Linked DNA regions of Homo sapiens: region 2 is linked to region 1. Evidence: promoter capture Hi-C in 16 types of primary human blood cells and fetal thymus (Javierre and others, 2016). All regions are on one chromosome and are shown on one strand. The core of a region is centred on a gene start or on the middle of the fragment in contact, and the rest is flanking DNA. Distances in the headings are between cores, read along the strand shown. Region 1 holds the start of HFM1 (helicase for meiosis 1). Region 2 holds the start of TGFBR3 (transforming growth factor beta receptor 3).

Evidence for each region. The method cuts DNA at HindIII sites, captures the fragments that hold promoters and counts their contacts. A CHiCAGO score of 5 or more calls a contact.
Region 2: a fragment that was not itself captured here is called in contact with the fragment with the promoter of HFM1 in region 1 in 1 of 17 cell types (monocytes); the score reaches 5.0 in monocytes.

The regions. Positions count from the first base shown.
Region 1 is chr1:91,402,818-91,408,575 of GRCh38, reverse strand. HFM1 (helicase for meiosis 1) reads left to right here and starts at 3,739. Exons shown (of 39, transcript NM_001017975.6): 1 at 3,739-3,778. RefSeq lists a silencer at 3,765-4,144. The HindIII fragment of the contact is 14,376 bases long and covers 1-5,758 here.
Region 2 is chr1:91,882,668-91,888,085 of GRCh38, reverse strand. TGFBR3 (transforming growth factor beta receptor 3) reads left to right here and starts at 1,935. Exons shown (of 17, transcript NM_003243.5): 1 at 1,935-2,208. RefSeq lists silencers at 1,669-1,808, 2,159-2,238, 2,249-2,458 and enhancers at 1,601-2,363, 2,364-3,127. The HindIII fragment of the contact is 8,259 bases long and covers 1-5,418 here.

The DNA.
Region 1 (5,758 bases), core at 2,490-4,989:
AGGGAGGGAAGGAAGGAAGGGGAGGAAGGGAGGAAGAGAGAAAAGAGAAAGAAAGAAAGAAAAGAGAAACAAAGAAAAAGAAAGAAAGAACAGAAAGATTTTTTTTTTTTGGTTTGTGCTTAATTCAGTCTTCCTTTTGTTATTTAAGTATCTACTGAATTGGCCCTAACTCCCTAAACTTTTCTTTCCTCCTGAGAATCCCATCATATCAAACTACCTTTATTTCCTTTTTTTCTGTTTTTTTCTCAGAAATTAATTTTGTAATTCTCAGATTCTTCCCAAATGATCTCTTCACTGTTTCTTGTCCAAATCTGACAATAAAAAACACAACACATTTCTGGCTGTCATCTGCAGAAAAATAGTCTTGAAACCTCAACATTTCTTGGTTCCTGCTTCTCTAGAGCCATCAACACTAATTTTTCTTTTTTCTTTCTTGCTTTTTTAGATACAGGATCTTGCTCTATTGCCCAGGTTGGAGTGCAGTAGTGGGATCACAGCTCACTGCAGCCTGGAATTCCTTGGTTCAAGCCATTCTCCTGCCTCAGCCTGCCAAGCAGCTAGGACTACAGGCACACACCACCACACCTGGTTAGTTTTTAAAATTTTGGTAGAGATGAAGTCTCGCTGTGTTGCCCAGCCTGAGACTAATTTTTCAATATCAATTTCTACTGACTAATCAGGGTGTAAAAGATGTGGATGTTACAAAGTGAAGAAAATTTTGGTTATGTTGGATACATCAGCTAGAACTCATGGCATTGGCTGTAATAGCATTACCATATGTCCCAGCAATTCCACTCCTAGGTACATATCCAAAGGAATTGAAAGCAGGGACTTGAACGGAGATATTTACACACGAATGTTCATAGAAGCATTATTCACAATAGCCAAAAGGTGGAAATGTGGAAACAACTCAAATGTCCCTTAGCCAGGATTACAAATGGATAAACAAAATGTGGTATATAAATACAATAGAATATTATTGAGCCTTAAAAAGGAGTAAAATTCTGATCCATGCTACAACATGGATGAACATTGAAAACATTATGCTAAGTGAATAATCCAGAAATAGAAGAACAAATATTGTATGATCCCACTTATATGAAGTACTTAGGATAGGTAAACTCATAGAAATAGAAAGTAGAATAGAGGTTACCAGGAATTAGGGAAAGGGGAAAAGAAGGAGTTCCTGTTTAATGGGCAGAAATTTCTTTTTTTTTTTCTTATACTTTAAGTTTTGGGGTACATGTGCACAACGTGCAGGTTTGTTACATAGATATACATGTGCCATGTCGGTTTGCTGCACCCATCAACTCGTCATTTACATTAAGTATTTCTCCCAATGCTATCCTTCCCCCAGCCCCTCACCCCCCAACGGGCCCCAGTGTGTGAAGTTCCCCTCCCTGAATGGGCACAAATTTCTTGTTGGGGATAATGAAAAAGTTTTGGGTATGGATAAGAGTGATGGTTATACAACACTATGAGTGTATTTAATGTCCCTGAATTATACACTTATATATGGTTAAAATTATAAATATTACGCATGTTTTACCACAATGAAAGAAAGAAAGCGCGCCTTCTAGTGGGAGCTGGGTGCAGAGAGAGCTCTGTATTCTTGGCTGCAGCTGTCTAGAATGGAGCCTGTCTTGCTAAGCTGGAACTTGGGAGTCTTGGATAAAATACCACAGAGCCTTGCCTTTCTTACCAAATTTTTGTATCTCTTTCTTGAAAAGATGTTTCTTCTTTTGCTGTTTGCCCTTAGGATCATTTCCAGAGGGTCTGAGTCATTTTTCTAGAATTTTCACCAGTTTCACTGAGAAGTGAGGTAGCAAAGCTCTTTATGCAGTCATGCCAGAAGTTGACCGGGAAGACTATATTTCAAATGTTAGTTATGTTATTCAATTTGGAGGATTGCTTATGACATTGTTGCACTGGTTGTAAAATTAAATCTTTAGGATTAAAATGTTTTCTTGAGAAATGTGGCAACATTACTAAAAACCATGGTAATCCCTCCCCCCAAAATGGGATTTTTAGTAACTTTATCACTGTCCTGAGGCTTCCTTTTAAAAACTGCAGCTTTGACATTTTTATTACATTATTTTAAGAGAAAGTAAGGCTCTATAGATTCCACATGCATTCTTGAATAAATGAGTGAGTGAATGAATGAATGTTTTTGTTTATGAACATGGTGGCCATTTGCTACTGTGTGCTTTGACAGTAAGACTCCCCTGTACCTGCCTGTTGCTGAATTCTACAATTCTATCACTCAAACCCTATCTTAGTTCAAGCTGCTATAACAAATTACCATAGGCTGGGTGGCTTAAACAACAAACATTTGTCACAATTTTGGTGCCTGAGAAGTCCAAGATCACAGTGCAGGCAGATCCGGTATTTGGCGAGGGCCTCCTTCCTGGCTTGCAGATACCGTCCTCCTGTATCCTCACATGGTAGGAAAAGAGCGAGCTAACTCTCTGGCCTCTTAAAAGGGCACAATCCTACTCATGAAGGCTCTACCCTTTTGAGTTAATTACCTCACAAAAGTCCCACGTTCAAATATCATCACATCGGGGGTTAGAATTCAATGTATGAATTTCAACACATTGAGGGGTTCACTATAACAAATGCACTGTTTCGTTATTTTCCTCTATGCAGTCTATGGAAAGTAACTTTCCTCTCCAGTATTTTTGAGAGGAATGATAATTCAACCTTTCTATTAAGAATAGTTTATGCAGTCAAAATGTTATTTTCTCCAAGAGACAAAGACTTGTTATTTTATCAGTATCCAAATAACTGGCTCACCCAATTACTGGAATAATTTTACATTTCAGAGAAGGTGAAAGAAATTAATATTCATGAGCATTTACTGTGTGGTAGGACTACTGCAAATATTATTTTATTTAACCCTTGCAGCAGTATCTAGGAGTTAGAGCTTATGAGTATCACTGAGGATGCAGAATTAAGACTTAAAGGTTGGGTCTTTTCCAAGGTCATATAGCTAATGAACAGTAGAACTGCAAGAAAAAAGAGAACAGGAATAGGGCAGTCAGACAGCAGTAGGTTGGCCCTAGATGTCACAGGTGGGGGTTTCCAAAGGAAAGATAAATGTCTCTGTAAGAAAAGCATCATTGATTCGTTGCTATTTTATCATCTACAAAACATTCCCTGCCAAATCTTCAGAGGACAATTCTAAAGAAACTTAAAAGGATAATTTATAGTTTGTTCATGTTTACAGCCTAAGAACACATTATTGCCCTGTTTTTATAAATTCATGTTGGCTAAACACATTTAAATATCATTGTGTTTTAGAATATTTATTTCTGAAATTTAACTTTATTTCTGAATCAAGTTCCCCAGTAATACCGACCTCATGAGTGCCACTGTGATATTTTATAAATAATATAGGTAAAACACTTTTTAGGTACGAAGAGACCGGAAGTCCCAGAGCTGAGGCCTGGCTAACTTTGATGAGAAAGGCAGGTTGGGGTATGTTTGTGGAGTGGTGGTTGTGGGGGTAGAGAAGCAGGTTAGCTTAGGGAAAGGGTACCATTTAGTAGACCCTTAGAACCCAGGATTAGGAGCTGTATTTAAAGAGAATAGACACAGTAAACTGCAAGAGATATATTCAAAACCAGTTATAAACTTTCGGAGAAAAAAAGGTAGGAAGGGAGAGGTTGGGGGCTTGGGCGATCCATTGCTTGGAGCTCGGCTTAGCCAGGCTTGGCGGTCCTCAGAGGGGCTGATAAATCGGCGCTCGACTGGCCTAGGAGCTGTCCGCAGGGAGGTGAGGAGAGGGGCCCGGACGCCCGCGGGGAAGGTGGGGACGGGGGCCCGACGCCCGCGGGGAAGTGGGGACCCAGCCGAGCCGTCCGGGCAGCGGTCGATCTCTAGAGCCGTCTGCCGGGCAGGCAGCGGACGGGCGCGGCGAGTTGTTGGTCACCAGGCGTCTCCAGGCCGCCGGCCCGCGCCAGCGCCTCAGCCGCATTTCCAGTCAGAAAGCGGTGAGGCCTGCGGCGCGCTCGGGCGCAGGGCGGGCCCAGCTCCCCGCGAGGTGGGACCGGCTGGGCGTCCGGCCCGCCCCTAAAGTCGGCTGATTGGTGTTCGGTTCCTGTGTCTTGTGTTCCGGTGTGTGGCGCCCCCTGAGCGAGCGCTGGGGGGGACGTACCCATCTGTCTGAGCCGCGGGTTTCACAGCGGTGGGAGGAAACGGGACCCGGGGGGTGGAGTGACGCGCCCCAGCGCCCCGTTCTTGTGCCACTCTCGGGGCCCTAAGGCCTCTGCCTTGGATTTAGGATATTCTCCTTAGGAAATCCACAGAGCTGTTATTTTGCTTTAGGTGCTGATTCGGTCCCCAGCCGGACCCTTCCAGCCAGCCCTGTTGGTGCCTGGGGAGAGGGGGTGAGATCTGGGGCTCCGACAATTGTATGGTCCTTTCCCAGGCCGAGCCTCGGAGTAATTTGTTCCCGTTGATTTTTCCTTCTTTGTCAGATTCTCTGCAGTTATTTGTGACGGTCGGTTATTCCCGTAAATGTTGGTCCCTACTTCTTCCTTAACTCACAAAAATTTCTAGCAAATCAATAATTTTTATCTGAGTTTCTGTACTTTTAAAATAAGGAGTATGTTTCTGAGTAAAAATTGTAAGAAGTAATAGGCCTGCAATTTTATACAATAAGTTTATACAATAATTGTATACAATAATTTTATACAATAAGTAAAGATTACAGAAGACAAAATGGTGAATTGTCATTAATATAACTAAAGATTAATTGTATCTAGTTGTATTAATATTTAACTAGAGATTGTCATTAATATAACTAGAGAAGGTCGGCACCGCAAATTATGTAGACTCAAAAATAGCTTAAGTATTTTAACAGTGATTATAGCAGAGCAGACACTTAAAACTACCTGGGATGATATTGTTTATTGTGTTTGGCAATCTAATTTTGTGCCACGTGCTGAAACTAAAACTTTAATAATAAATAATAGGAACTTAAAAAATCTGAATCTAAACCTAGAACTTTAATTAATTTAAAATAGCATCCCCTCACATCACAAACTCATACTGAACTGTAGCAAGGTCCCTTTTAGGACCTGTGTTTCTTTTTTAAAAAAAGATTTACATAATGAAAGTGCCAAATTCATCATCTTTTAGAACCTTCATGATTTTATTTACATAAATCCTGAACTAGAAAAAAATTTCACATTTTTTAACTGAACGTTGAAGATTGGGGCTCAAATTTTAAGTTTCTAAATTAACAGAAAATTATTTTTATTTGACACTATTTTTATAAACTGGTTCTTGCTAATGCATTTATTCCACAATGCATTCTTATGGACCATTTACTGTGTGCCAGGCACTATTCTGGGTTATTGGAACACATTAATGAGCAAAAAGTCCCTGCTTGCTCTAAAGGGAGAAACATAATAAACAACTAAGCATATACTATAATGTTAGTTATCAGTTCATGCTATGAAGAAAAATAATGCGGAATGAGAGGATGCAGTTTTAGATAAGGGGTGTTTTTTCACAGGAGTATATAAGAACTAAAATATGTACATGATATTTTTATTCTGAACCCAAACAAGTTATATTCTTGTATGCTAGAACTAGAAATCAAAAATTCTTTTGAAAATATTTGCTGTTTGTATAGGAGGTTTTTGTCAGTTTATGCAACGCTTTTCTTCCCAAATGTTTTAAATTTGTAGTTTTGTTGTCTATTTGTAGTTGCTTTAGGAAGAAAGTATTCAAGTGTATAAATGTTAGC
Region 2 (5,418 bases), core at 1,561-4,060, 480 kb before region 1:
ACAGGAAAAACTCATCCCCAAGATTCAATTACCTCCCATTGGGTTCCTCCTAGGACACATGGGGATTGTGGGACTTACAATTCGAGATGAGATTTGGGTGGGGACACAGCCAAACCATATCAAATACTGTTTAATTTGAGTCTAGGAGAAATCTTAAGGCCTTAAACTTAGACTTTATAAAAGCAGAGGCTAGCTCCATCTGGACTGTTTATTCCTTCAGAATATTATGCCTACTTGTATTCCCAATGCCTGACTCAGGGCTCTCCCATAGTCAGTGCTCAATGAATATTGGTAAGGAAAAAAATGGTTCAGTGAGGAGATTTTTGCAGTAATTCAGGTGACTGATGACATTTGACCTTTGTGAATGAATCTCCAATTCTGCAATTGGGTGGATTCTCTGCCTATAGGTACAAGAGGAAGAGGACGAGAAATATTTCCTGTTCTCTCAATAACTTTCCAAATAACATGTCATAAGAAGCCTCCTCATTCTACTCTCCAACATATTAAAAGCCTAGGATTGAGCCAGGTGCAGCGGCTAACGCCTCTAATCCCAGCACTTTGGGAGGCCAAGGCAGGCGAATCTCTTGAGCTCAGGAGTTTGAGACCAGCCTGGGCAACTAAGTGAGACCCCCGCCCTGCCAACCCCCTCTACAAAAAATACAAAAAGTTAGCTGGGCGTGGTGGCATTTGTCAGTAATCCCAGCTACTCAGGAGGCTGAGGTGGGAGAATCGCTTGAGCCTGAGAAGCGGAGGTTGTAGCGAGCTGAGATTGAGATTGTGCCACTGCACTCCAGCCTGGGCGACAGGGCGAGACTCCATCTCAAAAAAAAAAAAAAAAAAAAAAAAAAAGGCATAGGTCCATAGCCCTTTAGAACTGGAAGAAGCCTTCTAGGCCAAGCCCTTCATTTGAACTGAGCCTTGACGGGTATTAGCCGTTAGCCATTTGTGGAAGGTCGCACAGTAGTCAGGACTGGAAGTCTGGTCTTTGAAACCTGTCAGTCCACGGTCATTTCACCTGCCTGTTTGTAAAACAATGTCCTGTTACTTAAGTATACTTTTTAATAAGAAAAACTGGGTGTAAGCAAGAGTATCAGAGTGGTGTTCTGGTGCCAGCAGTTCAACTTCTGCAGCGTGTACTTCACAGGCACAGGTACTTAGGACGTCGCACAGGCACAGGTACTTAGGACGTTGCCCCGCCGAGACTGTCGTTCATATCGCGCCCACCTCCGGGTAACGCCGGTAATGCTGACCTAGCTCCATTATTTGTATTAATTTATTTAGCTAGCAGGGGGAACGGCTGGGTAATGCAGTCTCAGCTGCTGGAGGGGAAGAGGCAAGACTCCGCCGGCGCCCACCATCAGAGCGTGACAACAAGCGGGACCGGAGGTTGGGAAAAAGCACAGGGACAGAATGAATGTGTGCATGGGGGAGCTCTGCTGGGGAGAGGGCAAGAGGCTGTGATCAGATTATCTGAGGTTTCAGAACTTTTATATAAAGACCAAGGAACCAAATGAAAATCCAACTCTTCCAGGGAGCCCTGGAAAGTTCAAAGGACCTCGTTTGAGGGAGCGAGTCCCCGCAGCTCGTGCCCACGTCTCCCTCGCGCTTCCCCCAGGACAGGGGCCGCCCCAACCCGGGCACGCTGAGCCCGGCCGCGCCCCTAGCCCCTTCTCTCTCGGCCTCCTCGTCCCGAAGGGAAGCACAGGCTCGAGCAGCATTCGGGGCTCATCCATCAGCCGCGGAGGCAAAGGGGGAGGAGAGAGGAGGCGGGAGGCGGGAGGCGGGAGGAGGAGTTTCTGGGCGGCCGAGAGCCCCCGGTGGGGCCGGCGGAGGAGCGCCCTTCCCCCCGCGCGCTGATTGCTGTGGCGTCCTGCCCGTCCCCGCCCGCGTGTGTGCGAGGGAGGGCGAGTGCGCCGGGTCGGCCTGATGGGGGTAATCGAGGGTTTCGGGGACGCCGAGCGGCACTTTCCTCTTCCCAGCGAGTGAAGGAGGGCAGTCGGCGGCTCTCGCGCCCCGGCCACTTTCCCTGCGCGATTCCCGGAGCTCCCTGCAGGAGGTGAGAGTCCCCAGCGGGTCCGGATGGCGTAGTTTTGCCGCGGCGCAGCAGCTGCCGGAGCTCGCCGCCGCCGAGCGCTGGGCGGGGAAACTTGCCGCCGCTTTCCTCCAACTTGCTGCGGGTGGATCTCCGCTGGACACACCGCCTCCGAGGTACGTGCCGGCCCAGCCCCGCGGCGCTGCAGCCCGCCCGGGCTGTGGGCTCTGCAGGCTGCGCGGGTGCCCGTCGGCGCGGCGCGGGCTGCCAGTGCCTACTTACCGGCCAGGGTCGCTCCAGCCGCCAGGACCTCCGGCCTTGGGAGGGAGGCGCTGGTGGGGCGGTGTTTACCCTCCGGGGAGCAGGCACCGGTGGCCAGCGGTGCGTGGGCAGCGGCCGCACGGGGCAGGCAGTGCCCCCGGCGATGCGCAGTGCTGGGGAGGAATTCTCCACGCCCGCCCTCACTCTTCCTCTCCGCGGGTCCTTCTGACCCCTGCGGGGCGCGGCGGCCACTTCCCTCCGGGCGCGTGACAGCTTCGGTGGGAATGGTTTGTTGTGGGTTCGCAGTCAATTGCCGTGGCCCAGGCTGTGGCTCCCGGACTCGTGCACGGACGCGGTTTGCGTTCCCCGCTGGCCGCGCCCTCAGGGTGCCTTGCGGGCTGAGCCGCAAGCTGCAGCTCGGCCCCCCCCCGCCCCGGTTTATTTTGAAGGCTCTCTTCTTGTATTCATTTGGTTAGGACAAACTTGGAAATCTTGGACTGTCGCTAGAAGAATCTGCTTGCAGACTTGATCTTATTAGGGCATTTGCCCCGCTTTGCAGAATCGCATAGTGTCAGGAGCCGACGTGTCAAGCATGAATTACCTTGGCAAAGTAGAACTTAGTGGATTTGGTGTCCTCACGAAAAGCTGGAAGAAGAAAACCGTTCCATTTCCCTAGCTGTGAAGTGAGGATAGTAGTACTTGCCCCGTAAAGTTGCTGTGAGCATCTAATGATTTAATGTGTGTGAGGTGCTACAACAGTGCTTGGCACCGAGTAAGCACCGCACGGAGGTTAGCGCTGCTTGCCGCTAGCCCTGCGGTGGCAGGATAGGAGCGGCGAGGGCAGAGGATAGTAGGAGTGACAGGCTGTGCTGGGGAACCAGGCGTATTCTGAGTTTTATGTCCTTCCGAAGAAGTGAGCGGTTTGGGAGAAGTCTCCACAGGTAGTAAAAACACACGTCAAGACCGTTTCTTCTTCCTGAATGCAGAGTGCAAACAGTTACTTCAGTGTGAACTCAGTTGTTTCTTTTGGATAATAATAACAGCTAACGTTTTCTAAGCCCATACTGTGTGCACTTAATCCTCACAGCATCTCTATGGGAAAAGCACTATTAATAACCCTATTTTACAGATAAGACACTAGAGGTTAAGTTACTTGTCCAAGATCATACATAACTTTCTGTTAGTTCTGACTCCAAAGCTACCTTCCTTCCTCAGCGGAGAGCGGCAAGTGCAGGCCGATTTGTGTGTACATAGATTTGTGTGCATAGTCCATGCATCTTCTCCCATCTTTCAGCTTTCTATTTGAGCTGAACGCATATCTCTTGAAACACACATAAGGTATCTGTGATGAATTTAGGCGATTTTACATACTTATGAGGGTGCCCAATTAAAGTTCCTCTGAAACTGGCCCCAAATAATTATAAATAGAACTCTGACTTGTATTAATTAACATGGAAATTTTTTTTTTTTTTTGGTGACAGAGTCTCGCTCTGTCCCCAGGCTGCAGTGCAGTGGTGCGATCTCGGCTCACTGCAACCTCCACCTCCCGGGTTCAAGAGTTTCTCCTGACTCAGCCTCCAGAGTAGCTGGGACTACAGGCGCGCGCTACCACGCCCAGCTAACTTTTGTATTTTTAGTAGAGACGGCGTTTCACCATGTTGGCCAGGATGGTCTCGATTTCTTGACCTCGTGATCCACCTGCCTCGGCCTCCCAAAGTGCTGGGATTACAGGTGTGAGCCACCACGCCTGGCCAACATGGATCTTTATTCTTAATTTCTTTTATTAATTCTCCAGACATTGTTGATCACCATTACTTGGCTTCCTTAGGAAACAGCTTGGGGTTGGCACAGGAGGCAGGGAAATAATTCTTACCCCCTTAAGGGCTATTAACATGAAATTGATTTCATGCCATTGTGTCAGTTAAAGGATGTTGCTCTATTTCTTGCTGTTCTTTGCTTTTGGCTTTATTTCTGCATTGTTTAGTGTTTCAAGGCTTGAGCGTTTTTTTTTTTTGGCCCTTCAGTTTGACATTTGTCAACTTTAATTTTTCCTGTTTTGATGGAATCTGACCGTTACACGGCAGCTTTGCCTAACAACTGTTGATTCAGCTCATGTTTTTAAATATAAAAATCACCAACATAGTTTTGAATCCCAGCACTTCAAAGGCAACCCGTGGGGAGTTCATTGTTATTTTGAATATTAGTCAATAGGGGGAGCATAACACACTGTTGATATCTATAAGGCGCATAAACCCGTTTTTAGAGTATTAAACATATAGTTTGAAAGGGGAGGGCAAAATATCTAGCAAAATAACTAAGTTGCTTTTGGAGTTTATAATGGAGGACTAGATTTAATTTGAACTGATTAAGAATGACCTTGAGGACAGGGCCTGTATGTTGAATATATGTCAAGAACTCCATGGTGGCTGGACAGATAGATAAACACACATATAGTTTTTTTTCAATTTGTTTCCTTAAGTGGTGTGTAGGCCAGGCACAGTGGCTCACACCTGTAATTCCAACACTTTGGGAGGCTGAGGTAGGAGGATCACTTGGCCAAGGAGTTCGAGACCAGCCTGGGTAACATAGTGAGACCCCCATCTCTTTAAAAAGTGAAGTTTGTATGTAAACTAATTTTGTGTGGTTTGAATAATATTTCAACTTACCTGGGAGAAATGGAAATCCAGAGGAATTTGTTGTGAATCCTTTTGTAATGATCCTCATTTGTGTTTTGTAGAAAACTGAATATAATGAATTTGTTCTCAGGGAGGTTGGTGTGTTCACAATCCTGTCATCATCTTTCATTAACATCTTCTAAGTGCAAGACAATAGGGGATCAGTAATCCTAAATAACAGCAGTTCTATTACTGTGAATTCCTCAGAGGCTTACGTTAATATTCAAGTATAGTAGTAGTTCAGATGTATCATATTTGATACTAGTATAAGTGTGATGTGTCTATGAATACTCATACTTGTAAACATAAACAATAAGAATATGCTTGAAAAAATCACACTTGACATTTATCTATTTATTTATTTATTTTTTGAGATGGAGTCTCTCGCTCTGTCGCCCGGGCGGGAGTGCAGTGGTGCAATCTCAGCTCACTGCAAGCTCCACCTCCCAG